Linked DNA regions of Homo sapiens: all the other regions are linked to region 6. Evidence: promoter capture Hi-C in 16 types of primary human blood cells and fetal thymus (Javierre and others, 2016). All regions are on one chromosome and are shown on one strand. The core of a region is centred on a gene start or on the middle of the fragment in contact, and the rest is flanking DNA. Distances in the headings are between cores, read along the strand shown.

Region 1 (4,009 bases), core at 26-2,525, 2.5 Mb after region 6:
TTGACTGTATGCAGGAGTAGTTTATTGGAGTTATATTGGACAGTATGATAACTTTGTGTTTAAGCAGGTAAAACTGATTAAGGAGGTTTTTATTTTAAATCAGTACCAAGAAACGTGTGGATATTTTTTAAAGTTTGTAGTTGTCACAAGAGCTGTTTTGACTTGAGGATGGTCAGCCATGAACTTTGCAAGGTGAGAAAAAAGCTTCCTTTGCTTTTTTTTTTTTAAACCCTTACCTGTAATTTGATGAATGAGATGTTTCACTTTATTCTTTTATTTTATTTTTGTTTGTTTGTTTTTGAGACAGGGTCTTACTCTGTTACCCATGCTGGAGTGCAGTGGCACAATCTCGGCTCACTGCATTCTCCGCCTCCCGGGTTCAAGCAATTCGCCTGCCTCAGCCTTCTGAGTAGCTGGGATTACAGGCATGTGCCACCACACCCGGCTAATTTTTGTATTTTTAGTAGAGACGGGGTTTCACCATATTGGCCAGGCATGTCTTGAACTCCTGGCCTCAAATGATGCGCTCGTCTTGGCTTCCCAAATTGCTGGGATTACAGGCATGAGCCACTGCGCCTGGCCCTAAGGCTTTCAATAAATTCTTATTAATTGAGATCATCTTCTCCAATGAGTCTATGAAAGGTAAGAAATTAGTGCTTCTATTTTCCCATTTGTATTAGTTTGACACATGTAAATAGGCCCAGTTAGTAAATGAAAATCATTGTAAACTCCTTTGAGAAGAAATCAAAGTCTTGCTGTACTTCATGAATTTAGATAGCAAATTATCTTGGCTTATTGCTCCAGTTATTAAAAAGAAGAGAATAAGGACATACAGCTTCTTTAGTGTTTGACTGCAATTTTTCCAAGACATTCAAGGTAACATTGTCTTTTAAAATCTGTGAAATTTTGCTGCGGCGCAAATAACCTCTTGCCCATTGTATACTGGTCTTTGCTCAATGAAAGCTTTCTAATGGTACCTTCATTTCAAGCCTCATTTAAAGACAATATCAGCACTCTAAATTGTACCAAATTCCTGTCCTCTGAAATTAGATGTTAAGATTATGTGTTTGTATAGTCTAAACTGATGATTGTGGTATTACATAGTCAGCTGCTCATTAATATAGATGAAGCTAAAATGAGTCACGGACAAGGATAGTTAATAAACAGGTTGGCTAACTAGAACACCTACCTGATTTTAAAATAGAAAATCCTTCCTTTATACCAAGAAATGTGAGAACATTCTGCATTTGAAAAAGTTTTCTTTTCTCTCCAATCTTCTGAAGGGCCATTATTACATAGCATTTCCTCTATCCCTCTACACTTTTCTTTTCTTTTTTTTTTTTTTAAATAGAGACAAGGTCTCACCGTGTTGCCCAGGCTAATCCCAAACTCCTGGGCTCAAGTGATCCTCCTGCCTCAGCCTCTCAAAGTGCTGGGATTACAGGTGTGAGCCACTGTACCTGGCTCCACTACCCTTTTCTAACAATATTTCTTTCCAGTGAATGTTGACTCATTTAATAGCCAGCATTTTTTTTAGTGAAAAAATTGCCCTCTCTTTTCAAAGATGTGTATAGTGTTATTATTCTGTTAAGCTTGATCTCAGTGAAAACGTGTAATCTCTCTAGATCTAATAACATTTAATTTTTTTCTAATTTTTATTTTATTTTATTTTATTTATTTATTTTTTTGGAGATGGAGTCTCGCTCTGTCACCTGGGCTGGAGTGCAGTGGCGTGATCTCGGCTCATTGCAACCTCCGCCTCCCAGGTTCAAGGGATTCTCCTGCGGCTGCCTCCCGAGTAGGTGGGACTACAGGCGCCCACCACCACGCCCAGCTAATTTTTGTATTTTAGTAGAGACGGGTTTTCACCATGTTGGCCAGGTTGGTCTCCCAACTTCTGACCTCAAGTGATCCACCCACCTCGGTCTCCCAAAGTGTTGGGATTACAGGAATGAGCCATCTTGCCCAGCCAATTTACATCTAGTTTTTAAGCAAGAGATTAATAGCACTGAAAATTCAATTTTATTGGACACCACATCTTACTTAGATGCCTTTCTCATGGCCTGCACCCGTCTTTTCCTAGCAAGGAAGCTTTTCAGTGAGGGGCCTTCAGTTATTACCTAGTGCTAGTAGTTTGGAGGAAGAGAAACAGGTTTCATTAATTAGTGATAAACTGTCAATGTATGTGCTTATCCTTATATAAAATTACTTGCTATTATGGGATAGACTTTAACAAGGCAACATCTGGACTGCTCATTTCTTTACATTATATATGTATGGAAATTTTTGCAGAAAGCTTGTGAAAGTTCTTTTTAAACCGCTGCTGTCAAGTAGTAATAACAATACAGAGGATTCCTTCTGTGCACATCTAGAAATAAAAGATTAACTCTTTGCATATTTGGAATAGCTGCTTCAGTGAAGAAGTATGTAGGATTTTTCTTACTGTGAACAAGTCTTGGCAAGACTTGTTTTTGAAAGAAATGCAAGATTATTTTAGCAATATACTTTAGTAATGGTTCTGAGGAAATACAAGTGGTATCTTGAGGGTTGGGGGGATGTTAGCTAATTGGTCTTAGAGCTTCAGCCATGGCACCTAATCCTAGGGCAGCTGATCCATAGCTTGGCCAAAGAGAGAAAAAAATAGAGCATGCTAGCCTGGTGCCAAAAAACCCAAACCAAACACAAAAAACCCTCAGAAATTTGAATGAGAAAATATGGAGATAAAATTGGTCAGCACTGGGAACTGAAGCTGGAGTTGGAGGGAGAGTCTGGCGAGGCCAGAACTGACAATGTGCAAATGAAAGATGTGAAGAAGCAGAAACTGAGGAAGCAAAGGAGAAAGGAGCAACTCTGCACAGAAAAATTCTCCCCACAGGTCCTTAGTTCATGATGGCTTTCTAATGCAACTGCAGCCCTCCTTTTACAACTTTAGTGTCTGTTTTTTTTATGATTGAAATGAGCCTAATTTAAACATAGATTTTAAAAATTCCAGTCTTGCTTAAGATTTCAAATATAACCAGAGATCATTCAAACTGAGTTTAGTAAATATTGTTGAACGTCCGTAATCCAGGCACATGATGCTGTCGTAGGCACAGAGAATGTAGAGGTAGGTAAGGCTCTGCCTTTAAGGAATTAAGAGACTTGTGGAGGGAAGGACATATAAGAGTTACAATAGAAACAATTTAATTTGAAGTACCTATGTAAGGTATTTGCAGGAATAGACGTTGGGGAGGAGTTTGGGGTGATGGAAGCCTTCCTAGAGGAAATGTCTGAGGCTTTTAAAGGATAACTAGGAGTTTGCCTGGTGAATAATGATGTTAGGTGGGTGTTATAGGCATTAAACAACCACATGGTAAGTTTGCAGAATTAAGATCACTTTGGCTGTTAGTCTCATATTCATTCCTTATTAGGATATAAAGTATGAAGTGGGCACTGATGAGAAATGAGGCTAAGAAAGTTCACAGGGGCTAGATTGTAAAGACCCTTGAATGTCATACTGCAGAGTTTAGACTTTTTCTCATTGATGAAAATTCTAAGTAAGAGAAATACATGATCAGATTTGCATTTTAGAAAGATAACACTTGAAATTAGTATGGGAGATGGATTGGTGATGGATGAAACTAATTTGGAGGCTTTTGAAGTAGTCCAGATGAGATATTTTAAGGAGAGAGAAAAGAGTGTATGGATTCGGTGGAAATTTTAAGGGGTAGTATCAGTAGAATTAAAGATAGTCTTGTAGGGGTGACGGGAGTTGGACAACTCATAGGTTTCTCGTTTAAGAGAGACTGGGGAATGTGGAAGAGATTTGTGGGAGAAGTTAATTAATTGGCTGGAACAATTCACTGAATTTTGAGTTCTAGGTGTTTATGAGGCATTCAGGAGGAAATGTCAGAAAGAATGGAGCAATTATTTATTGTCTGTCTACTCTGTGTTGCAAGCACTGTGCTTGACAGCTAACCTATGTAGGAATGTGGCTGAGAACGATAATAGAAACAAAAATGACACCAGT
Region 2 (3,921 bases), core at 1,417-3,916, 2.6 Mb after region 6:
GGAGGGAAAAATAACATGTCTAAAGAGTAAATGGCCTTGCAGTCCTCCACGCAGTCTTTGATGAATAGCATTCCTCACAATTGTGCTTTGATAAGAATTAAAGTGCAGAGAACTTATATCCTGAAGAACAGAAATTCAATACAGCTGATTAACAGCTGAAGCCTACTTCTGACATTTTGATATTTGAACAATAGATGGAGCAGAGATTATGATTGGTATCATTTTCTGAAGCAAGAAGCCAAACCTGGAGAGGCAACATAAGAAGATCTTCCAGTTTAGGTAGAGATCTCAGCTGAATATCTAAGCAGGTGTGATGCTGCTGGTGAGGTCACAGAGGCCTGCAGGAGACTGGACTCTTACTTCCTATTTATTATGGCCCACCATGATCTCTGCAATACGTATGTATTTAGTGAATGGCCTCAGAAGTCTGCATCAGTGTGGATGATTGTTTACAACTAAATAATTTTGCAACATTTATTAGCATGTTGTTCTCCACTTTCGTAAAATGCAGTATTTATTTTATTAATATGTATTTTAGAATGTGTAAAATATTTAAATATTGAATACTGAAGGCCTGGCCTTTGTCCATTCAGGAGAAGCTGACTAAAGCACATTTAAAAAATATTATAGACCGGGCGTGGTGGCTCACACCTGTAATCCCAGCACTTTGGGAGGCTGAGGCGGGCAGATCATCTGAGGTCTGGAGTTCAAGACCAGCCTGATCAACATGGAGAAACCCCATCTCTACTAAAAACACAAAATTAGTTGGGCGTAGTGGCGCATGCCTGTAATCCCAGCTACTCGGGAGGCTGAGGCAAGAGAATCGCTTGAACCCAGGAGGCGGAGGTTGCGGTGAGCCGAGATGGCGCCATTGCATCCAGCCTGGGCAACAAGAGTGAAATTCCTCAAAAATAAATAAATAAAAAATAATAATCATTAAATAAAGGTATTATATAGAGCTTTATTTGAGAAACTGGTTTATCTAAAAATTGACAAAGTGGTTGATGGAACTTCAGGGTAGTAATTTCACATTTACATTAACCTTTAATGAGACCATGTGGTTTCTTTAAAATCTATATTACCTGTGCAAAAGAAACCTATTCATTAGAAATCCAGTCTCTGATTTTGGCAACAGAGCCAATATTTATTTCCCACAGAGGCCAATTCTAGTAAGCTTTAAATCCAGGATAGTTAACTTCGTGAGAATAGTATCAACACTTATTTCCCCTGCTGTCAATTGAAAGAATATGTTGACCACCTACCGTAACTAATTTAACTGGGAAGTGGTTGAAACATTAATGAATAAAACAACAGTGTTGTTAACATTTTTTTCTGGAAAATAACTTTAATACATTAGGCATATTTGCAAATAATCATTTTACTGCCTGAGGTTTTAATATATAACTTAATATATAACTCATTTATAAGGGAAAATGCATAAATTCCACTTGGCTAACTAACTCCGTCTTTTCCTGTTAAATTATAAAAAGAGAAAGTCTAATTGGCCTAATTAATCAGTATTAACCCTCTGGGCTGGGCTTTTTGGGTCAGGCTAAGTCTAGGTTTTTGGTTAGACTATGGTTCTGGTCCCTGCTCCTGACTCATTCAGCAACCATCCTTTGCTCAGAGAATACCCTAAGGCCAGAGTAAGTGAGTGAGATGGTTTCTGTTAGAAGAGGATGGAGGAGTTGCATGCATCATGATTGAAATAATTCAATTAGAAAGTTTCTAATTTTTTGTTATGGTAAATGCCGTTGATGCACATATTTGTTATACATCTTTTAGCATTTTTTCCACTCTCTTTGTTAGGATACATTTCTTGGAATAATTGTTGAGTCAAAGGATTTGAAATTTTTTTTTTTTTTTGAGACGGAGTCTCACTGTGTCACCCAGGCTGGAGTGCAGTGGCATGATCTCGGCTCACTGCAACCTCCACCTCCCGGATTCACCGATTCTCCTGCCTCAGCCTCCCCAGTAGCTGGGACTACAGGCATCCGCCACCATGCCCGGCTAATTTTTTGTATTTTTAGTAGAGACCGGGTTTCACCATGTTTCGATCTCCTGACCTCGTGATCTGCTCGCCTCGGCCTCCCAAAGTGCTGGGATTACAGGCGTGAGCCACGGCGCCCGGCCTGACATTTTTTTCTTTTTCTTCTTTTCTTTTCTTTTTTTTTTTTTTTTTGAGATAGGGTCTTGCTCTGTCACCCAGGCTGGAGTGCAGTGGTGCCATCTTGGACCATTGCAACCTCTGTCTCCCAGGCTCAGGCAATCCTCCCACCTCAGCCTCTGAGTAGCTGGGACCACAGGTGTGCAGCACTATGCTAGGCTATTTTTTTGTATTTTTAGTAGAGACGGGGTCTTGCCATGTTGCCCAGAGAGAGAGAGAGAGAGAGAGAGAAACAGAGAGAGAATTCCAGAGTGCTCCTTTTACTTAATTATGCCAATTTTGCTAAAGAGCATTTAAAAAACTACTTTCAAGGTGGTGGAGCAGCGGGCCTATCTTGGACAGTCGGGCCTGTTCCTTCTCTTAGGAAAGTCTGCATTACACTTTTGTCCTGCCTGCCTGAGTGGCCAATCTGAGTGACCCTGCTGCCACCATTGTCCCTTGGTCACCCTTTGGGTAGGGGAACTGTTCCCTCTACTTTTTCTGTATACTTCCCTTCACTTGGTATAGAGCATCTTAAACTTGAGAGGACAGAGAAGCACTTGGGAGCTTGCTTAATAGAGATTAAAGGAAGAAAGCCGGGCACAGTGGCTCAGGCCTGTAATCCCAGCACTTTGGGAGGCGGAGGTGGGCGGGTCACCCTGAAGTCAGGAGTTCAAGACCAGCTTGGCCAACATGGCGAAACCCCGTCTCTACTAAAAATACAAAAATTAGCCAGCCATGGTGGTGCGCGTCTACAATTCCAACTACTTGGGAGGCTGAGGCAGAAGAATTGCTAGTACCTAGGAGGTGGAGGTTGCAGTGAGCCAAGATCGAGCCATTGCATTACAGCCTGTGTGATGGAGTGAAACTGTCTCAAAAAAAAAAAAAGGGTTAAAGGAGGAAGATTCCTGCATTCTGATCCCTAATATTCTAATTTGGTAGTTCTAGGGCCCAAGAACCCATATTTTTAACAGGCTCCTTAGATGATTCTGGTGCAGGCACTTGGCAAATCCCACTTTCAGAAAAATTGCTCTGGTGCTTTGATGGGTACTTTTTGGGTAGTAAGAAGTCAACATGAGGCTGGGCACGGTGGCTTACACCTGTAATCCTAGCACTTTGGGAGGCTGAGGTGGGCAGATCACTAGGTCAGGAGATTGAGGCCATCCTGGCTAACATGGTGAAACCCCGTCTCTACTAAATATACAAAAAATTAGCCGGGCGTGATGGCATGTGCCTGTAGTCCCAGCTACTTGGGAGGCTGAGGTGGGAGAATCTCTTGAATCTGAGAGTTGGAGGTTGCAGTAAGCCAAGATCGCGCCACTGCACTCCAGCCTGAACGATAGAGCAAGACTCTGTCTCAAAAAAAAAAAAAAAAAAAAAAAAAAAAGGAGAAGTCAAGATGAAAAGTTTCCTATTTAAAAACACTGGTTGTGCTACTCTTCATTTCAGTAAGTCAGTTCTGGGTCTCATCAAACAACTTTCTTATGGGGATATTCAATTCTGAAGTGCCCAGTAGTACTTCCTAGGTAAGAATGCTGCTGGCCCTCTCATTTTCCTGCTATCATCCTTTAGATTAACCCATCTGTCTCATAGTCTTCCGTATCTAACCCCTCTGGTTCTCTGTTCTTATTAGGCCATGGCAGAATCCATTAAGGATCTCCACAGTTTCTCCTGATCCTACTTAGAAAATAATATTTTGAAGATATGTTCCTGGAACAGGTCAGGGAGTTGGTAGGGAGGTCATCTTGCTGTCTGCCAGAGACCTGGCCAGACCA
Region 3 (4,113 bases), core at 1,373-3,872, 2.4 Mb after region 6:
CTTTTGGCATACTTCATGGTATAATGCTGCTGGTTTATGACAAGTAACATTAACAATGTCATATATATAAGCACAATCACTAGAATTCTAACTTCTGTGAATGTCACATACATAAAGCCATAATGAAAGACAGTTTAAAAAGATACCTTTTAATAACATGAAGGAAAAAAATTCAAAATAACATATCTATACAAATACATCCTATTGTTATTCCAGTATTTCACAGAATAAAGAATTTGTCTATATAATTTCCTTCAGTAGCCCACAAAATATTTACCACTCCTTTCCTTAATTACCATTGTATTAAAGACATCTGATGTCAATGACAAAAACTCCAGTATTAATGCTTAAGAGCTAGGTTACATTATTTAAGTTTTTCATTTAATCTAACATCTTCAAGTCATAGGGAACTTTTTAAACTAATCTTGTTCACACTCCAGGACATTCCCACGCCAAAAAAAAAAAGTCAGATCAACAGCCAGAAAAAAAAACCAAACAACAAAAAAAACCACAGCTATATGCTGACCACAGCATGTAGTTAGCAAAGACCATACCCTTAGCTGAAGAAATAGAGCACAATTCCTTAACCTTCAATTCCTTAACAACCTACAAACTATATTGTATTGGAGCCAATTTTATGAAGTATCAAAGTATTACCATTCTGGACCAGGAAAAAATATCTAGAAAGGACATTATTAGGTTCTCAACTACAGGCAGTTTGCCCCCCACCAGGAAACACCTATAGTTGTCACACTAGAGGAAGGAGAAAGACCACAAGCTGCCGGCATCTAGTAGCCAGGGATGCTGCTAAACATCCTATAAATTACACGATAGCCCCTGACAACAAAGAATTATCTGGCTCATAATGTCCATAGTGATGAGGTTGGGAAACCTGAGACAAATGATGAAATGTGAAAATGAACTGCACTGTATCAATGTTATATTTCCTGAATTTAGTAATTTTTCTGTGGCTTCAAAAAACAATAGCCTTGTTCTTAGGAAATACACATCAAAGTATTTAGGAATAAAGGAACATATCTCAACTTACAAATGACTCAGAAAAAAATATGTATACATGTAGTGGAAAAGAATGAATGATAAAGTAATGGGGCAATATGCAATAATTGATTAATCTGAGTAGAGTAGATACAGAAATTTTTTTATTATTATTGCAGTTTAAAATTATACCAAAATTAAAAGCTAAACAAGTATTACCATGCCCATAAATTTATTTTACCTGGGAAACTTGGCACAATTTCCCAATATATATGTGCAATATAGCGAATCAGCTTTCTTTTACTCCTTTCTCAAAATAAATTACCCTATCTTGAATGGATACTTGCAAATTGAACCCAAATAACTCATGTAAGCTGAAAGTATAATTTCTAAAATGTGAATTGCACAAAGTTAGAAATGCTTAGATGTCTACCAAGGACATGACATACTATTGTATATCACAGTAAATTCATGGCCAATATCCCTGCATTGTATATTTTAGGCTTTCAATACACACAGAAAGCTGAAACCACATAAGATCTGAACATGATCAGTGCAAATGGATATACAAGAAATAATACAAAAAGATTTTTTTAAGACTCAGATTTTCATAAGTTTAACATTAGTTCTGAATTCTTGAATTTTATCATTTCTATTTCTGGGCAATTGTTACTTTAAACAGCATGCAACAAATTATAATAACAGCTTCATAAATAACAACAGTTTACTTTTGGAAAACAATTCTTTAAAATTTTAAATCCAGGAAAAAAAAATTTAGGGAACTTACAGACGTTTGGGACATACTTGACTGCTGTGTGACACTTCCTGTGGGAGATGTAGATGGTCTTCCACTGGACAAACTTGCCTAAAATAGTAAGACTTTTAGAATATGTCGGTAAAAACCTGAAGTTAAGAACTTTCTGGTACCATGATAACACAAAACCACAACAATAAATGTCAAAAGGCCTATGTATGAAACAACTAATTTTATAGTCAACATGGCTTAAGCTTCGGTTAAACAGATTTTTTAAATAAGGAAAAGCTGAATGGTGAAAACAGGGGATCCAAAGACTAATCTTATTTTATTAGCTACTTTATTGTCAGTTTCACTTTATGGGTCTCTGTCATCTTTAAAGTGGAATCACTACTCCAGAGTTATGAAAAAGAAATTAGAGCTACAGCAAGAGCCAGTGAGTGGGTTTCAGTTTCCTAACTTGTATCACAAACATGTTATTTAAAAATTACACTACTAAGAAGCAACAGCTGAGAATCTGTTGGTAACAGAAATAAACCTTTTTCAGGTTCAGTCAATTGAGATCCTCCTCTGGTGAGGGGATTTAAGATTAAATCTTACACAGCTTTATTTAAATAGTACAATAGTAACAAAAATCTTTTTTAAAAACAAGCATTTAATAATGAAATCCTGTTATCAGTAGGAATAATATGATTGGATTTTAGAAAAATGGATATACCTATCTTTGTATAAAAAATTTCTGGAGAAATATGTATTAGATTGTTACTGTGGCCACCTTTGAAGAACGGGAAACAGTGATAGACAGGGAAAAGGAACAGCTTTACTTTATCTCTTATAAACAACTTAATATTGTTTGATTTTTTAATGAGTATAATTACTTATATAATTTTTTTAATCTTATTTTTAGTAAAAATACAATTTATGTAAGCCTAAGTACTCACTGTTGTACCTAGAACTTTATACACATAAACTAGCATAGCATTTCTTCAATCTGGATAAAAAGCACTGAGACAAAAGCTAGAAACAGAGTAACATAAAAAAACATATCCCCTTTTTCTCAATTAACTTCTATTCGGCAACCTATTAATATATTTCCTCCGGGAAAAATAACCACAGGACATCTGAGAACTCTGAAATAATACCCAATCTATTTATTTTCAGTAACTACCTACAGATAACAGAAACTTTGATCTCATAAACTCTTATTTTAGTCTTACCTGAACAGCAGCAAGGCTCTGAAGCTGGGAGCTGCTTAAATGCTGCTGCTGAAGAGCTGCAGTATGCAGCATCAAGTGCTGTTGTTGGGCTGCATACATTTGCTGAAGGTACTGAGCAGCTGAGCTGGGGGGCCGATGCAATGCCTGTTGAATTACCTGTGATAAGTCAATTGAACCAATGTCAAACCATAATCTCAACCTTTATCTTAATCAGAAAATCAAAGTATAAAAAAGTGGCAGTTTAAAATTTCACTGCTTTAATACATAATATCATCAAGCTTATTAACATTATTTCTTTCCTAGTTACATATCACTAGAAATCACTAACTTGTACACATTAAAACTACCCAGTGGGCCGGGCACGGTGGCTCACGCCTGTTAATTCCAGCACTTTGGGAGGCCGAGGTGGGCGGATCACAAGGTCAGGAGATCAAGACCATCCTGGCTAACATGGTGAAACCCCGTCTCTACTAAAAACACAAAAAATTAGCCAGGCATGGTGGCACATGCCTGTAGCCCCAGCTACTCGGGAGGCTGAGGCAGGAGAATCGCTTGAACCTGTGAGGTGAAGGCTGCAGTTGAGCCAAGATCATGCCACTGCACTCCAGCCTGGGCGACACAGCAAGACTCCCATCTCAAAAAAAAAAAAACAAAACAAAACCCAGTGGACAATTCGCAAAAGACAGGCCAGGCCAACTAAGCATTTCAAAAGATTTTCAATCTCACCAGTAGTCAAAAACTTACAAATTAAAACAAGATACTGTTTTCCAACTTTCAGATGGATAAAGATTTAAAAGAATACTACTACTACCTGGGGAAACCAATACTCCCATATTGCTAGTAAAAATTCAAGTTGGCATAACCTTTTTGGATAAAACTTCGTAGAATTCAGGGCTTGGGTGTGGAGAGAAATACCTTTACCATGCAACCATAACAAATAGTAATGTAGATCAGTGCTGTCCTATACAGTAACAACTAGTCACATGTGCCTACTGAGCACTTAAAATGTGGTTAGTGCAACTAAAGAATTGAGTTAATTTTAAATTGAATTTTAATTAATTTTAATTTTAATGTAAACAGCCACAAGTAACTACTGGCCACTATAGTGTACATTGCTGATACCGATCTATATTTACTAACAAAAAG
Region 4 (3,777 bases), core at 769-3,268, 2.2 Mb after region 6:
AGCCAAGAAGCAGACAGGCTTTGCCTCTATCAACTTATATTTGAAAAACGTAGTTTCTTTAAATCTCCATTTTTGTCTTTTGAATACTTTATTAGGTCGCTCCAGAGAAAGCTTGAAAGCAAGGCCTGTACTCCACTTGAAAAGATTCATAAAATAGATTTGTAAATTATTATTCAGCGCATGAATTTCTCAAGTATATGATTATACTAAATTAATATTCATATGTTGCAGGAAGTTGGTGAACCATCTAAAGAAGAGAAGGCTGTGGCCAAGTATCTTCGATTCAACTGTCCAACAAAGTCCACCAATATGATGGGTCACCGGGTTGATTATTTTATTGGTAGGATTATATCAGTAAAATCGTATTAGTGTACATATGTTATGAAGTTAACCTACATTTGGGATATGTAGAAGTTTTAAAAGTGCTTTCCAAATGTGATTGTTCTGGTGATGGACATATGGCAGTTGATTATTCTGTTCTTTTCTTTTATGATTGAAAATGTCTATAATAAAAAGATAACATGTTTTCTAATAACAATTGTTGGAAATTTTTTTAAATAGGATTTATTTTCAGTGTTTTAAAATACTACCTTTTGTTTAGATAGTATGCGTACTTGGAACTAAGAGCACTGGCTTTTTTTCCCCAAACAATGTCATTATAAGCTGATGTCATTTATAACACCAGAGCTTATAAGTAGGGGTTGAGTTTGCCTTTCTCATCAATTAAAAGTGAATTGCAGCTGGGTGTCGTGGCTCACACCTATAGTACCAACACTTTGGGAAGCCAAGGCAGGAGGGTTGCTTGAGGCCAGGAGTTCGAGACCAGCCTATGCAACACAATGAGACCCCATCTCTACAAAAAAATTAGATGAGTATGATGGCATGCGCCTCTGAAGTGAGAGGATGGCTTGAGCCCAGGAGTTAGAGGCTGCAGTTAACTATGATCCCACCACTGTACTCCAGCCTGGGTGACAGAGCAAGAACCTGTCTCTTAGAAGAAAAAAAAAACTAAATTGCCAGTGTAGAGGAAAAGTCCTTTATCGTCTCTTTCTTTACTGTTTTTAATGATTTGACATTCATTACAAGTTTTAAAAAGTAGATGTGCTAATCTCTTCAGATATAATATGTTTAGCTGTTTCTTGTGACAGCAGTGGATTGTTGACAGAGCTTCTTCCTCAGTGTATTAGAGTAAAACTTGATGAGAATTTTTATTACTTGCAGGGAGTGGTGAACATTTTGGTTTATCTACATATGCTTGTGATTAATAAGAGTGATAGTTACATACAGATATTTTAAATTTTTGAATATTTCCCCATTAATTTAACTTGCTTTAGTTGGTCTTTCTGAATGCCATTATTTCCCAACATTACTTTTAAAAGATACTTAATATAGTTCACAAGTTGAGGTTTTGGGGAACTACTAATCATGATCATGTTAGATTTAGTTTTCTGTTGAGTTTGGTTTTCTTTTTTGTTGCCAGAGTGTTGAAATTTTACTTTATAAAATATTATTTAGATAGACATAAATCCCCATGTATGCTAAATTTAAAATAATGAATTTCTTCTTTAGCTTCAAAAGCAGTGGACTGTCTTTTGGATTCAAAGTGGGCAAAGGCCAAGAAAGGAGAGGAAGCTTTATTTACAACCAGGGAGTCTGTGGTTGACTACTGCAACAGGTACTGTTTATTTCTTAGTGAAGAATAACATAATAATTTTAAATTTTCTTCATAGTCCTGAAGCTCCTTACATCATTAAATGTAGTGATACTACAACATAACTCAAATACTGTTTTCACATGTAACCTGATTTCTTTGGTACCTCTGGAAATGTGTTTGGTATTAGACTATTATACTTTTAACTGTATATAATTTTTATTTATGTTCTATTTTATATATTTGTGAGCCCTACTGAAGGGTCAGCAACAAAAGTCATATACCAGTGCCTACAGTAGAAAAGAAAGTTTTTTCTTTTGTAGAGCAAATTGGTTGAGGAGTCTTTTTTTCAAAACTTTTGCAGGAATTCCTATTAGCTGTGTTACCGCTACTTTTTTAGTGCCTGCACCCTGAGCCATAAGCCTCATACCCTTTCCTATTTGGTTCAGTGTTTGCTAATGTAGTATTTCTTCTAAAATCAAGGAAGCTGCAACATCTACCTTATCTTTTTCTGAGAATTTCAAGATGAAATACAGCTAATTCAGTAATATACATATATTTTTCATAATAGATACTTTTTCTGTTTTGAAAAAACTTTTGATGTTAAGTGGTTTACCTAAAAGACAAAATCACCTTCCTTTTGGAAGGAAGTATGCTGGTTTTTCTTTCCATTTCTTTTCTTTTTTTTCTTGGTTTACTTAATACTAAGCATTTTCTTAATATATGTTAACTAAATTTTGTTTTCATAACACTAAAGCTTATCTTTTGGGATTTTAGATTATTTTATGTGTACTAATATTTTATTTAATGGCACCTAAAGTATCAGCCACATAAGAACCCTCTTAAAAACCACTATTTCACAACCTGGTTTCTTAAGCTGTCAAGTTAAAGAATTATTGAATATTTCTTAAAATTCTTAGTTGCCAAAGACTAGAGGTTACTAACAGACCTTTTAGAAACAGTAGGTTTCGGCCAGGCACAGTGGCTCATGCCCGTAATCCCAGCACTTTGGGAGGCCGAGGCAGGTGGATCACAAGGTCAGGAGATCGAGACCATTCTGGCTAACAAGGTGAAACCCCATCTCTACTAAAAATACAAAAAATTAGCCAGGTGTGGTGGCGGGCACCTATAGTCCCAGCTACTCGGGAGGCTGAGGCAGGAGAATGGCGTGAACCCGGGAGGCGGAGCTTGCAGTGAGCCGAGGTTGCGCCACTGCACTCCAGCCTGGGCGACAGAGTGAGACATTGTTGAGACAAGGATGAGCTAACACTCATGCAGTTGATATTTGCTTGTCTTTTGTAGCAACTTGTCTAGTTAGAATTAGCTCCAGCAAGCATATATCCAGGGCAACTTGAATCTGCTCGTGGGGAAAAAATAAAAAGGTGAATAGAATTAGCTCCACGGTACAAACTTCCAGGCTGGGCACAGTGGTTCACGCCTGTAATCCTGACACTTTGGGAGACCAAGGCAGGGAGATCACATGAGGCCAGGAGTTCAAGACCAGCCTGGCCAACATAGCGAAACCCCATCTCTACTAAAAATACAAAAATTAGCCAGGCGTGGTGGCATGCACCTGTAGTCCCAGCAACTTGGGTGACTGAGACATGAAAATAGCTTCAGCCCGGGAGGTGGAGGTTGCAGTGAGCCGAGATCGCACCACTGCACTCCAACCTGGGTGACAGAGCAAGACTCTGTCTTAAAAACAAACCAAAAAGTACAAACTTCCTTACCTGCCACAAAACTGATGTATTTTTTACATGTTGTGTAAAAATTAAGAGATGCTACAAATGCAGAAACTGGGGCACAGAGAACTTAAGTACTTTATCTAAGGCTACACAGCTAGCAAGTGGCAGATCTAGGGTTCTACATCTAGCAGCCTGTCTCCACAGTCTGTGTTCTTAACTACCGCTCTATACTGTCTCCTCCAACAAAATGACGATGCATTTAATGGAGCTATTAGATCTGTAAGCCCAAATCTCTGAGTAGAGCAGCCAGTATGAATCCACATTTTTTGGCTTTTTAGGAGCCTTGGTACCTTGTTATTTGAAAAGCTCAAAAGACCTGAGTACAGAGAGTGTCCAAAGACACTCGATTTTCATTGTATACGCTCTTCCCACTGATGTCAG
Region 5 (4,199 bases), core at 1,266-3,765, 2.6 Mb after region 6:
TAAAATTAGTAACTGTTCCCACTAGTTTACAGAGTATTTTTTCTATTTTTTTGGAACCGAGTTCAAAGCCTGGCATGTCAAAGGCACTCAATTAAATTTTTCTTTTTTTAACTGAATAGATTTTTGAAAAATAACACTAAACTATATTTTAGAATATTTGGATTTTCTTTTAAAGATGGCTTAACCTTTAAACAGATACAATTTGCACATAAACTGTTAATATAATTCATCAAACAAGAGAATGAGCATTTTGGAAGTTAAGAGCCTTTACTGCAGAAATGTAGGATGGTATTTCAAACTACTATTGAAATATTATGTATTTGAGGAGTCCTCCTTTCCTCATTTTCTTATCTAGAATTATATTTCTGAGACAAACAAGATAACTGAATGTTGGGTTCAAATGTATCTCATTTATAGTTTTTTTTACACAGTAATTACAGTAGTTGGATATTTGCTTACTAAAATGAAGTGTGCAAGAAGAAAGTGTGAAACAGTTTTTTTATTATAGAAGCATTTTCTGAATTATTTCATTATTTTCGACTTGTTACCCAAAAAGATACATTGATTGGAGATAGTGCCCATTCCATTTATTCGGTTGATACCACATTGGGGTTTTGAATGATGGAGACCAATACAGACCTGCTTAGATTGGATAAGGTTTTGTTTAGTGCCTTTCTCATTTTTTACAAAACGACTTTTATAATAACTTCAGAGTAATCAAGTTTTTGGAGCTCATTCTGTTAATAACAGGATATGTGGACCCTCCCTATCCCTGGCATTTTTTTTTTTTTTTTTTTTTTTTGAAATCTGTAGAGTGGCTTTGCAAATAGTGCCCCCTGTGGTTTAGGAAATAGAGCCTCTTTATTTTTATTATTAAAAAATAGAATTGTTAGCATATGATTTTTGAAAGTTAGAAATTTATCCTTTTTGTTTGAGAAATGGGAAAAAACTTAGAAACTTTAAAGAAGAAAAACAAAAAAGAGATGGCCGTGTTTTCAGAGTAGGCCTGGATCATCATAGTCAGCCAGTAGTTTTCTCGTAGCAGTGCATATGTTATCAATTATGCCACTGGGAAACCAAAGAAGTAATCAAGAATTGGGCTAATTTTTTTTTTGATAAGGAGTTTTGCTCTTGTAGCTCAGGCTGGAGTGCAATAAGGCAATCTCGGCTCACTGCAACCTCCGCCTCCTGGGTTCAAGTGATTCTCATGCCTCAGCCTCCCTAGTAGCTGGAATTACAGTCATGTGCCACCATAGCTGGCTAATTTTTGTATTTTTTGTAGAGATGTGGTTTCACCATATTGGTCAGGCTGATCTCGAACTCCGTACCTCAGGTGATCTGCCTGTCTCAGCCTCCCAAAGTGCTGGGATTACAGGCGTGAGCCACCGCACCCAGCGAATTGGGCTAATTTTAATCCCTTTAGAATTCTGGGAGTGGAAAGTGATTGTCGAGCTAGAATTCAGTTTGTTCCTAGTAAAGGGGTAGAACTTGTTTGAGAATAGCTTTGGTAATAGCTTGAATCTGTATTTTGTTCACATATAGAATTTTATTCTACTGGGATTCATATTACATAAAATAAGGATTTTATTAGACTCTAGAAAGCAAAAGAATATATAAACAATGCATCTTGTTGTAAGATGTGATTTGCTTCCGGCTGCGCGCGGTGGCTCACGCCTGTAGTCCCAGCACTTTTGGGAGGCTGAGACGGGCGGATCATGAGGTCAGGAGATCGAGACCATCCTGGCTAACATGGTGAAACCCCGTCTCTACTAAAAATACAAAAAATTAGCCGGGCGCGGTGGCAGGCGCCTGTAGTCCCAGCTACTCGGGAGGCTGAGGCAGGAGAATGGCGTAAACCCGGGAGGCGGAGCTTGCAGTGAGCCGAGATCGCGCCACTGCACTCCAGCCTGGGAGACAGAGTGAGACTCCGTCTCAAAAAAATAAAATAAAATAAAATGTGGTTTGCTTCAATCACTAACTCATTATATTAGGCAGAAAGAATGAATAGGAAAGATATAAAATTAGTTTGAGTCCTTTTGATTTCATGACTTCTAGACTTAAGAGTGGATCATAGAAATATGTAATATTTCTATATATACATATATATGTATATATACAGAGAGAGAGAGAGAGAGCCCCCCCCCCCCCCCCGAGCAGGAGTTCATCTTATAGTCTTACAGTCTTCTTATATCTTACAGTCTTCGAATCTAGAATGTGGTAGATGCCTAATAAAGGTTTGGATAACAGTGAAGTCTAAGTGGCCCTATAAAGTTACCAGTGATTCTCGAAGAGGGAAACAGGTTTAGTTTTAAAACAAACCAGCATTTCGTTTTTATTTGTGATGTTGAATTTATTCTGAGATTTCAAATGGCATTAAAAGTACATATTTTGCATTTTTTATGGGAACAAGGAATTAAAAAGCTTAAGAAACTTACTAAAAGTTTGGGTAACATAGTTTGACCCTGTCTTTACAAAAGATTGAAAAAAACAATTAGCTGGGCTTGGTGGGGCATGCCTGTAGTCCCAACTACTTGTGGGGCTGAGATGGGAGTATCGCTTGAGTTGGGGAGGTTGAGACCGCAGTGAGCTGTGATGGCACCTCTGCACTCCAAGCTTGGGCAACAGAGCAAGACCCTGTTTTTCTCAAAAAAAACAAGACAAAACAAAACTTAATAAAAATGATTTAAGACTTCTATGCTTTTTATAGTCTATGTTAAATTTTTTTGTGTGATTATGAAAACAATATAGGCCCATTGTAGTAAATACTAAAAAAGTACAAAGAAGAAAACACAATTTCCTCATAATTGCACCATGTGATAACTGCCTCTGGAATTTATTCATTTGCGTATGTAATTGTAACTGTGTTTGTGCAAAAGCATTTCTAGAGTGCATAAGTATTAATAAAGGAGTAGTAGGCCTGGTGCGGTGGCTAACGCCTGTAATCCCAGCACTTTGGGAGGCCAAGGCAGACAGATGATTTGAGGTCAGGAGTTCGAGACCAGCCTGGCCAACATGGTGAAACCCCATCTCTACTAAAAATAATAATAAAAAAAATAGCTGGGCATGGTGGCACACGCCTGTAATTAGAGCTACTTGGGAGGCTGAGGCAGGAGAATTGCTTGAATCCAGGAATCGGAGGTTGCAATGAGCGGAGATCGTGCTACTGCACTCCAGCCTGGGCAACAGAGTGAGACTCTGTCTCAAAAAAAGAAAAAGAAAAACAAAAGGAGTAGTTACTGGAATAATACTTTTGGACCAATTTTAAGACAGTTCATTTAGAGCAGTGTTTTTCTAACTGCAATTTGTCATTCATGTAGCCATCTCAAGCAGGGTTCCATAAGGGGAGATTTAAGCACTACAGAAAATGAATTGAGTGCTGGTTTTGTCATTTCTCCCAGTGATCGTACTGGTACCATTCTAAATGCACTGGAGAGAAGGTAATTCATTACATACAATGGATGCCTTGGGGCATTTTAAATTCTCCTGAGAACCTCAATTGAAAACCGCCAGGAGGGTCATGAAATCAATTTAGTGGGTCACCAGCATTAAAAAACATAAAAACCTGAAGTAGAATAAAATGGAAAATAGAGGACATTGCACATAGGAAGATTAATCAATCTCTGTTTTGAAATTGCCAGTTTACATTATTTGAAGGCCAGAATAATCCAGGACTGTAAATTGTTAAGCATATATGCTAAAATGAGATAGAAAAGTAAAGCCTTAGAATTATACAGATTAAAATTTTTGACAAATAGTGGAAAATAATGTGTATGACACTGAGATTTCCATGTAGTTGCAGTATTAAGTTTATTGGGCATCACAGACCTTCAGTATAAAATGTCACAGGATTAACAGGATTTTTATCAGTGTATTTTTCTTCAAGTTCTAAAGGGGATGTTATATTACCAACTTTACATGGCTTTGTTTCCATTAAGGACTCAAAATAATAGTTGCAAAATATTACAAGAACTCGAGCCTTTGCATTTTCTGTGAGCATTTTTAAGTATCTCAAACCTAAAATTGGCTTTGTGAGGTAGGTGGTATGATCTTTCAGCCTGTGGAAACAGCTGCCATTGCTGTGACTCCTGACGATCTGTTTTTGATCAGTTAGTGCAGATGCTTAGATCATACTGTCCCAGTTTTGCATTAATTTGATCAATTCTATTGATTACAGAGAAGTGAGGCCCAAGACTAAGCCT
Region 6 (4,098 bases), core at 1,157-3,656:
TATCCAACGTGCAGAGATCTAAAGTGACAACAGTACCGCAGCATGTGACTGAAAGATGATAACAACAATACAAACATTAATCCACCATCCGAATAGAAGAAATATCAAAACTATAATTGGCCTCAGAGATAAAGAGTAGTGGCAGAAATGAACCAAGAACAAAATCTAAAACACACTGAACAAATGCATTACATTAACTAATTTCCAAAATTTCCTCATAGTTCAAAAGCTCTTTCCATAATGACAGAGTTACATGCCAAAGGTTAGAACTTATTTCATACCTCCTTCAACAAAAGGCAAATACCTACATTGTCATCTAGAAAACAGATTAATATTCTTGCTTTACCATCACTGACTCATGTTCAGTTTACGGTCTACTTACATCACTGCACCTTTCTTAATCCAGCACAAAGTCAGTTATCACCACATAATTTTCCATTTGTTTAACTGGGTCTTCCTTGTCTGTGTACTACATTACTTATGGTACATTATTCCTGATTTTACTTCATTCTATAGTATCATACTTTTTCTATTTTAAAAATCGTATTAATTTCCAGACCATCTTAATTTCAACCATCAGGGAAGATAATACCTCTGTTCCGAAAAAATGTTTTTCCATTAAAAAGTGAAGCACATTGTTGATAATATAGTAACTGCAGAGTACATTCAAAATTCAGCATAGTCTGATGATCAACTTATATATAAAACAGTAAGCTATGATTTATTACATGTTAAGAGTAAGCCATGATTTATTACATGCTAACCTGTATGGATATAAAGTTATCACAAATAAATTCTGCCATCAATGAACATACTCTAACAATTCTATTAAAAACTTATCCAATAATAATAGTCATGAGCTATAACTGGTCATAATCATTATAGAGGATAAGACTTGCATAAAGGCACTACTTTCTGCAAGATATGAACTATACGTGTACTGTTTTTTCATTCTTCAATGTAAAGTAAGAATGAATTGAAAGTCACAGTTGATGCTAAGAAAAATAAAAATATGCAAGAGCCCAATTTTATTATTTGCAGACACACACACAAATACAGCCCAGAGTCAAGAAAATGGGGGAAAAGTAAAGTCTCAAAAAAGACGATGTTACCTCCAAGAAATGCAAAATACCTTCTTTTCTAGTAATGGGCACACTAAACTCTCCTAACGCTACATTATTTGAAAAAAGTGTAGTTTTGTGAAAGAATTCCAATCCCACTATTATCAGTTTTACAAAATGAGAGTAAAAACAGTCCTAAGGTAGAAAAAGAAAAGAATATTCTTCTAAGGATGGGATATATTGTTTAACTGTTGTTCTCCCATCCTATTACCTACCCGTAAAAATGAACTGTGAGAGTAGAGTCTATCATTTAATACACCCCTAAAAAAAGGGGAAAAATCTGTAAAAGTTGAAACTGGCCATTTTTATTTTTTCCAAAAGGATCTTTCCTTTATTGAGGAATTTCACTCCGGTTCAAGAAACAACTTTTTATCTCACAATGGCTTCTTAGATATACTATATAAAATACATTTACTTTGTAACTTCCTCCACCCTTTTCAAAAAGCACAACCAACGTCCCTACTCTAAAGCTGGACTCGAACCGAACTAGATTCAGAAAGTCTGTCCCTACGTGTGTGACCTTGGGCACGTCATATAATCCCTCGGTTTCCTCATCAGCATCCCAAAATGAAAGCGCTCTGAAAGCAGTAAAGGAGTAAAAACATACCTTAGGTATGACACCTAAGAGGGTCAAGTCTTTCTGTTTAAGGCAAAATTATCTCCTTAGAGGGCCACATCATTAAACTGGAACTGAATCCGTAGACCCCAACATTTGTCTCTTCCTTCTTCCAGTGCTCCTCTTCCCTCAAAGGGCATAACCCGAGTCACCCCCAAGAGCCGACTCCCAAGCACCCTTTCCTTCCTCCTCCCTTTTCTCTTACTTACAAAGCAGGGGGAAAACAGCAGCCTCACCTCTCGGTCCGAAGCCACACCTTCAAAGGACCCCACCCCAGGCACATCCGCCCTGTCCCCTCTCCCGGGGCACCAGGGGCCAACCTCGCCCTTCCCCTCCCGCCCCCACCTAGAGGAGACTTCCTGGAGGCGTTCGGGCCCAAGCCGGCAGGCGGCATTTACAAACCCGCTTTACGCCACTCGCGTAGGGTAACCTCGCTTACGCCCGTAGGGCCCCGCTCTCAGCCCCGTCCGCTCCGCCTGCCAGAACCAAGCCCAAGTGCCTCAGCCATGGCCCCTGCGTGACCCTAGACCTCTTCTGCTCGGTGCAGAGCTACGGGGACTGGGACAGAACAGCTACACCTTACCAGCAACTGAGGCACTGACTTCACTTCCCACCTTGCAGCCCTCTTCAACTCCCGGATCAATTCACTCCGGCGACGCCGGAAGGACCCAAGAGGAACCAGGCGTTGTCCGGAATCCTGCCCAGCCGGAGTCGTGCAGAGGCTTATGGGGACTCGTAGTCCCGCTCGCCGGCGTTGTCCGCAATTCCTGCAATCGGAAGACTACACTTCCCGGCAGGCCATGCGGGGGATCCTGAGGCGATGGGTGGTGACACTTCTAGCCAATAGTAGGAGAATTCCCTGCCTTTGCGGGAGGAGGTGAGATGAAGAGAGATGGTGCACGGAAAGGAGAGGAAGGGCGGGGCAAGCCCTCACCTGCGCCAATCAGGGTGCGGAGTAGGCCCCGCAGGCGCCTCACCCATTGAGGGGGCGGGCTGACAGAGCAGAGGAAGGAAGGGGGTGAGGGGCCTGTGGTGGGGATCCTGGGGCTGTCGGGCTGAGTATGCCGTGTGGGTGGAGAGGAAGCCTCGGGGAAATCGCCCAGGTGAAGGGAGGGCTTGGTGTGGGGACTTGCACTGGGCAGAGGGGCAGCTTCCCTGAGAGCAGCTAAGCCCCAGGCACACCGGGCATCCGGACACACAGGTCGGGGAAGGATAGGCTGAGCCGGGGCTCCCAGCAGAGACGCCTGGGTGGGGCAGGAGGCCGCTCCAGGTGTGAGCCACAGAGGAGGGGAGAGGGACCCCCACGGGAGTGGAAGTGGCAGAGCAGCTGCAGAAGTGCAGGGAGCGGAAAGGTACCAGGGCAGCTGCTTTCCGCTGCCTCCGGTCCGGGCAGCTGCAGAAACAGCAGGGGGAGGAGCAACAGCTGCCAAATTCGCCAACTAGAGGAGGGAGAGGCGGAGCTTGGGTCCCTGTAGAAGCCAGAGGCGCAGTCTGGACTGTAGTTTCCCGGGAGAGACGAAAGCAGGAACGAGAGCGGAGCGGAGCACAGTCCGCCGAGCACAAGCTCCAGCATCCCGTCAGGGGTTGCAGGTGTGTGGGAGGTAAGCGTGGGTCCTTCTTCGGGGCGTCTGCACTGCCCTGGAGAAAACGTCTTCCAATAGGAATTACATCAAGACACAGCTAAAAGAGTCCGCGTTGGGTTAGGAAACCGGTGCAAAACCTCTCGGGTGAAAGATTTACATTTTTCGACTTTAAGGGCAAAAAAGCAAAAGGAAGCTTGACTCTGGGTATAAAGGGCGTGGTTAGTGTTTTTGGTTTGAGTTGCACCAGTAAAACTGTTCTGGGAGATCTGAAGATTGAGAAAAATCCTGCTAATTGAGGACGAGGTGGATGTTATCTGGTGGATGTTATAGGTGCGTAGCCTATAAAAAGCAAAAATTTTGCTATTGATATAGAATAACTTCTGAACTATTTCACTAGGAAAATAACTTTGCATTCTTCTTCAGTGTCTACCCTTTACGTTGGTTTATCAGATTGTCCTGCTACCGACCTGTTATCCAGGGTGGTTATTTTGCAGTTTCCTAGAATTGCAAGAAATCCGTATTAAAGAAGCAAGTGCAGGCAGGAATAGTCAGGATAGGATGGGCTCTGACTTAATCTATCAAAAGTATAACTTTTGCCAGCAATAATGTAAAAATGAATTTTAATGAATGGATAGTTAGCTTTCTTCCCAGTGGCTCTGGAATATTGGAACAAAGACCTGGATTCAGCCTACAATGGAAACATATGGTGTACCTCACTGCTGCTCGTTAGTTTCTCATTTGTGTCCGATAATATGTGTACATTTTAAAAACGAGTACA
Region 7 (3,710 bases), core at 218-2,717, 2.2 Mb after region 6:
ACTATCATGATTTATTTAACCAGTCTCATTTAGCCAGCTGATAGACTTTTTCAGGCTCTTTCCAAACTTTTTATTATGTATGGCATATACAATTTCATATCGGTACAGGCATATCTGTAGGACACATTCTTGCAAGTGGAATTCTGGGCCAAGGTGCTTATGTAATTAAAATTTTCACAGATGCTGCAAAATTGCATTGTCTGGAGGTTGCACCCATTTACACTCTTCCAGCAATATGAGTGACTCACACTCATACTGGGCTTCAGTTTACTTATGTAGGAACTTAACCTGCTCGAAGTCACTCCAGCCTAATGGTCTCCCAATTTAAAATTGTTTAACATAATATTAATGCCTAAGCCTCAATAGTACCCCCCCTCCTACTTGCTCAACTGCATGTAAGAGATCCAGTTTTTTATTATTATTATAATGAACAGAAATTTATTGGCTCACAGTTCTGGGGGCTGGGAAGTCCAAGGCCAAAGGGCTGTCATCTGGCAAGGGCCTTTTTCTGAGAGATCCAATGTTTAATAGTGTCCCTATTTCTATAAATTTGCTATAGACTTCAGGGATATTACATGTGCCTATGAGCCCGTCATTGTCATTATTTCCCATTCTGGTGAGCTGAACACATCCTCTGTGGCAGGTGGTTCCATAGAAGCATCACTCAGAACTGAAACAACTCCTGAGCCCATGGCTATCCCTGGGTCCTGGTGGAGTGGAAACTCAACAATGCCTAGAGCTACATCTAGTGTCAATGAGCTACAGTCCTGCAGCTGTGCTGGTAAAGCTGGAACTGAAATGTCCTTGAGACTACAGATCCAAACAGTTGACCTTACAAAGTGAAAAGGACAATACCCCATCTGGGTGACACTCAGGTGCAGCAGTACAGGGTCCCACAGTAAGGTTGTGTGGATCTAATGTATTAGACCATTTACTCTCACAGTTCCTTTAATTAATACGCTAAACAACTTTTGCCAAGGATCATACCTACTGCTAGAAGTCTGTGTTGAGGTAAATTCTACAGCAATAATCTAAAATCTCCACCCCATCTGAAGCCCATGCTCTATTTCTGGGTCTAACTTTCCAGGCTGGGCTCCTTCTTCTCTTACAGGGTGCTCCTTCCTCTTATGTCCCACACTGTTCTTTCCAAAACTCGTGCCCTCATGAGGACCACACTAGTCCATCAGACCATGTTTTATATGCTTTCACAGAGTTTCAAGTCTTTTTCTTGGAAAGCTGTGCACCCCTGGCATAAATCGGTGGATGCCAACAGAACCATGGTAGATGGATGTACAAAGGTCACCATGTTGACTCTCACTCACAAATCGCATCTAACTGATACTCTCTAGAGGATCAGGTCAAATTGATAATAAGTAAATGAGTAAATAAACTCTTCCCTACAGTAGTATCACAATAAATGTAGAAGGAATGACAGAAATAGAAAATCACAATTTGGTAAACACCACAGTAATAAATATGTCAGGCAGAGATAATTAATGGATACTAAAATTAATAGACAAAAGTATGATGAAAAACAGAATACTTACATAGTTTCAAAGTATCCCCTCATAAGATGCATATTAATTTCAAAGGAAAGAACAGTAACTTTACAGCAGTGAAACCTGCCAGATCCCATCTTAACTAAGTGATCAAAGTGCCTCATTACCAATGACAAGACACATCAACTACTTTCCTCCTGACAAGACACACTGAGAAGGGTACAATGTCACTTCTATGATATTCTTGACAAAACGTATAACCTGAATTAAATCATTGGGAAATAACAGACAAACATAAATTGAAGAACATTCTGCAAAATAATTGGCCAGTACTCTTCAAAGAGTCAAAGTTATGAAAGAGAAAAACTGAGGAACTGTCCCAGATTAAAGGAGACCAAGGAACCATGAAAACTAAATGCAACTGGTGAGCTTGGACTGGATCCTGAACAGAAAAAGTCCACTAATGGGACAACTGACAAAATCTGAATAAGGTCTGTAGATTACTTAGTAATACTAAGTTCATTTCCTGTTTCAAAAATGGTACTATAGTTACATAATATAATATTTGTAGAAGCTAGGTAAAAAGTATGTGAAAATTCTTCATATTAGTTTTTGCAACTTTCTCAATAAGTCTAAAAGCATTTCAAAAGGACAAGTTGGGAATAATAAAAATAAATTTTAAAAACTAAGACAGCAAAATTCACTTATTACAATATTGGTTTGTAGAGAGTGTAAAGATACATATTAATTACAAAAATTATATTCATGCTTGAATTTAAAACTGGACAAGTAAACTTATCCTTTGATTAGTCAAATGTTGGCTTATTCAGGCATTTCTTAAAAGCACTCTCTAAAATTTCAGCATTTATTTTATTATCAGAAGTTGAAGGTCAGTATAACAATTGTATGTGAAAATATTTCAGTAATCCTGGTTTGCCCTTGCAATAATCTGAAGACATCTCTGCTGGGGACTATTTTATTATGACAATCGAGCACTAAATACACTGACCTTCAGATTGTCAGTTACTGGGTGAAAATGGATAGAAGATTTTCCATTTGGCAGATGAAAAATCAAGACCCCCAAATCCCTTTCCTTAGGAGGTACAGCTTAGGCAAGAAACCTATTATATTTTTTGCTGTTTGCCTAAAATATAGCAATATACCACTTTAAATGTAGTGATTTCATTTACCAGGGGAAGGAAAAAAACTGTATAACCTAGAGGCAATATGTAGAATAAAAAAAAATGATAGAATAATTGGAGCCACAGGAAGCGGAACATTTCTTACATGACACGGAAGATTATAAAGTGTTATCGTTTAGTAGTTTCTTATATAAATACTCAAGGAAAAATAATTGAATAACTAGTAGCCTTAATTTAGGGGTGGACCCATAATTACTACTTATAACAACCTCTGCCAAATTATTTAAATATTTACCTAAAAGGTAAAATATCCAGTCTGTAAGGTTTGCTGGCCTATTGTTCTTTTCATTTCAGAGACATCCACATTATTAAACATCAGCTGGACAACAGCACATGAGTACAAGAGTTGTCAGAAAATCATCTGAGGCCAGTGTAAGAAGGAATAGGTTTGAGGATTTTTTCCCAATCGGCAAGTGAGGTCCAGGTCTGGAAGTCTTAGTTTCCTTGGCCCTCATAACTTCCCTGGATTCTGTGCTGAGTCTTCCTTCTTGACCTTTGCCATCCCACTCCCCTTTCCATCTTCTTTTTTTATTTTCAAGACAGGATCTCTCTATCATCCAGGCTGGAGTGCACTGGCATGATCATAGCTTGAACTCCTAGGCTCAACCAAGATCCTCCCACTTCAACCTCCCAAGTAGCTGGGATTACAGGCATGAACCATCATGCCTGTCCATCTTAATAGATGGGCTTGCACAAGAAACAAAGTCTGGGTATACTAACAACTTATGAGGTTTAGCTGCCTTTACTTGCCCAAGAGGTTTTCATTTTGGAGATTTAGCTTTGCCAAACCCTATACTTCCTCTCAAATTGCTGGATTGGAGATAGGTTGAGAGAGTGGATGTTTACATGTCTCTGTTCTCAGGTAAGTCTACACTTACAAGAAACTGGGCAAATGACTGATTCCCAGAATCTCTCTTCTTGCACAGGGAAGGGCTTCCTCAACCAAATCTAGGGAAGCTTCTTGTCAAATTGGTTGTCTCTAAATTCCACAGAGGACTATATAGAAAAT

What was found. Contacts are between HindIII fragments. The CHiCAGO score rates a contact against its expected background, and 5 or more counts as called.
Region 1: a contact is called between a fragment that was not itself captured here and the fragment with the promoter of PDCD10 in region 6, in 1 of 17 cell types (non-activated CD4 T cells). The highest score is 7.1, in non-activated CD4 T cells.
Region 2: a fragment that was not itself captured here is called in contact with the fragment with the promoter of PDCD10 in region 6 in 2 of 17 cell types (non-activated CD4 T cells and neutrophils); the score reaches 7.1 in non-activated CD4 T cells.
Region 3: a fragment that was not itself captured here is called in contact with the fragment with the promoter of PDCD10 in region 6 in 2 of 17 cell types (activated CD4 T cells and naive CD8 T cells); the score reaches 8.0 in activated CD4 T cells.
Region 4: a contact is called between a fragment that was not itself captured here and the fragment with the promoter of PDCD10 in region 6, in 2 of 17 cell types (non-activated CD4 T cells and neutrophils). The highest score is 6.6, in non-activated CD4 T cells.
Region 5: a contact is called between a fragment that was not itself captured here and the fragment with the promoter of PDCD10 in region 6, in 2 of 17 cell types (non-activated CD4 T cells and total CD8 T cells). The highest score is 7.3, in non-activated CD4 T cells.
Region 7: a contact is called between a fragment that was not itself captured here and the fragment with the promoter of PDCD10 in region 6, in 1 of 17 cell types (naive CD8 T cells). The highest score is 5.9, in naive CD8 T cells.

The regions. Positions count from the first base shown.
Region 1 is chr3:170,224,242-170,228,250 of GRCh38, forward strand. The region is part of intron 1 of PRKCI (protein kinase C iota); the gene reads left to right. Among named protein-coding and RNA genes, the nearest start is that of PRKCI, 3.8 kb to the left of the region's middle. The HindIII fragment of the contact is 629 bases long and covers 962-1,590 here.
Region 2 is chr3:170,345,333-170,349,253 of GRCh38, forward strand. No RefSeq gene overlaps it. Among named protein-coding and RNA genes, the nearest start is that of SKIL, 10 kb to the right of the region's middle. The HindIII fragment of the contact is 2,988 bases long and covers 1,173-3,921 here.
Region 3 is chr3:170,169,590-170,173,702 of GRCh38, forward strand. It overlaps PHC3 (polyhomeotic homolog 3), which reads right to left. Exons shown (of 15, transcript NM_024947.4): 3 at 2,968-3,123; 4 at 1,784-1,861. Among named protein-coding and RNA genes, the nearest start is that of PHC3, 10 kb to the right of the region's middle. The HindIII fragment of the contact is 1,241 bases long and covers 2,003-3,243 here.
Region 4 is chr3:169,975,377-169,979,153 of GRCh38, forward strand. It overlaps SEC62 (SEC62 preprotein translocation factor), which reads left to right. Exons shown (of 8, transcript NM_003262.4): 2 at 232-340; 3 at 1,570-1,675. Among named protein-coding and RNA genes, the nearest start is that of SEC62, 10 kb to the left of the region's middle. The HindIII fragment of the contact is 776 bases long and covers 1,631-2,406 here.
Region 5 is chr3:170,368,305-170,372,503 of GRCh38, forward strand. The region is part of intron 2 of SKIL (SKI like proto-oncogene); the gene reads left to right. Among named protein-coding and RNA genes, the nearest start is that of SKIL, 13 kb to the left of the region's middle. The HindIII fragment of the contact is 192 bases long and covers 2,420-2,611 here.
Region 6 is chr3:167,732,486-167,736,583 of GRCh38, forward strand. It overlaps PDCD10 (programmed cell death 10), which reads right to left and starts at 2,407. Exons shown (of 9, transcript NM_007217.4): 1 at 2,177-2,407; 2 at 1,729-1,865. SERPINI1 (serpin family I member 1) reads left to right here and starts at 3,236. Exons shown (of 9, transcript NM_001122752.2): 1 at 3,236-3,338. RefSeq lists a silencer at 2,039-2,168 and an enhancer at 2,219-2,658. The HindIII fragment of the contact is 6,113 bases long and covers 1-3,511 here.
Region 7 is chr3:169,955,379-169,959,088 of GRCh38, forward strand. It overlaps the pseudogene FHL1P1. Among named protein-coding and RNA genes, the nearest start is that of SEC62, 9.6 kb to the right of the region's middle. The HindIII fragment of the contact is 4,378 bases long and covers 1-3,656 here.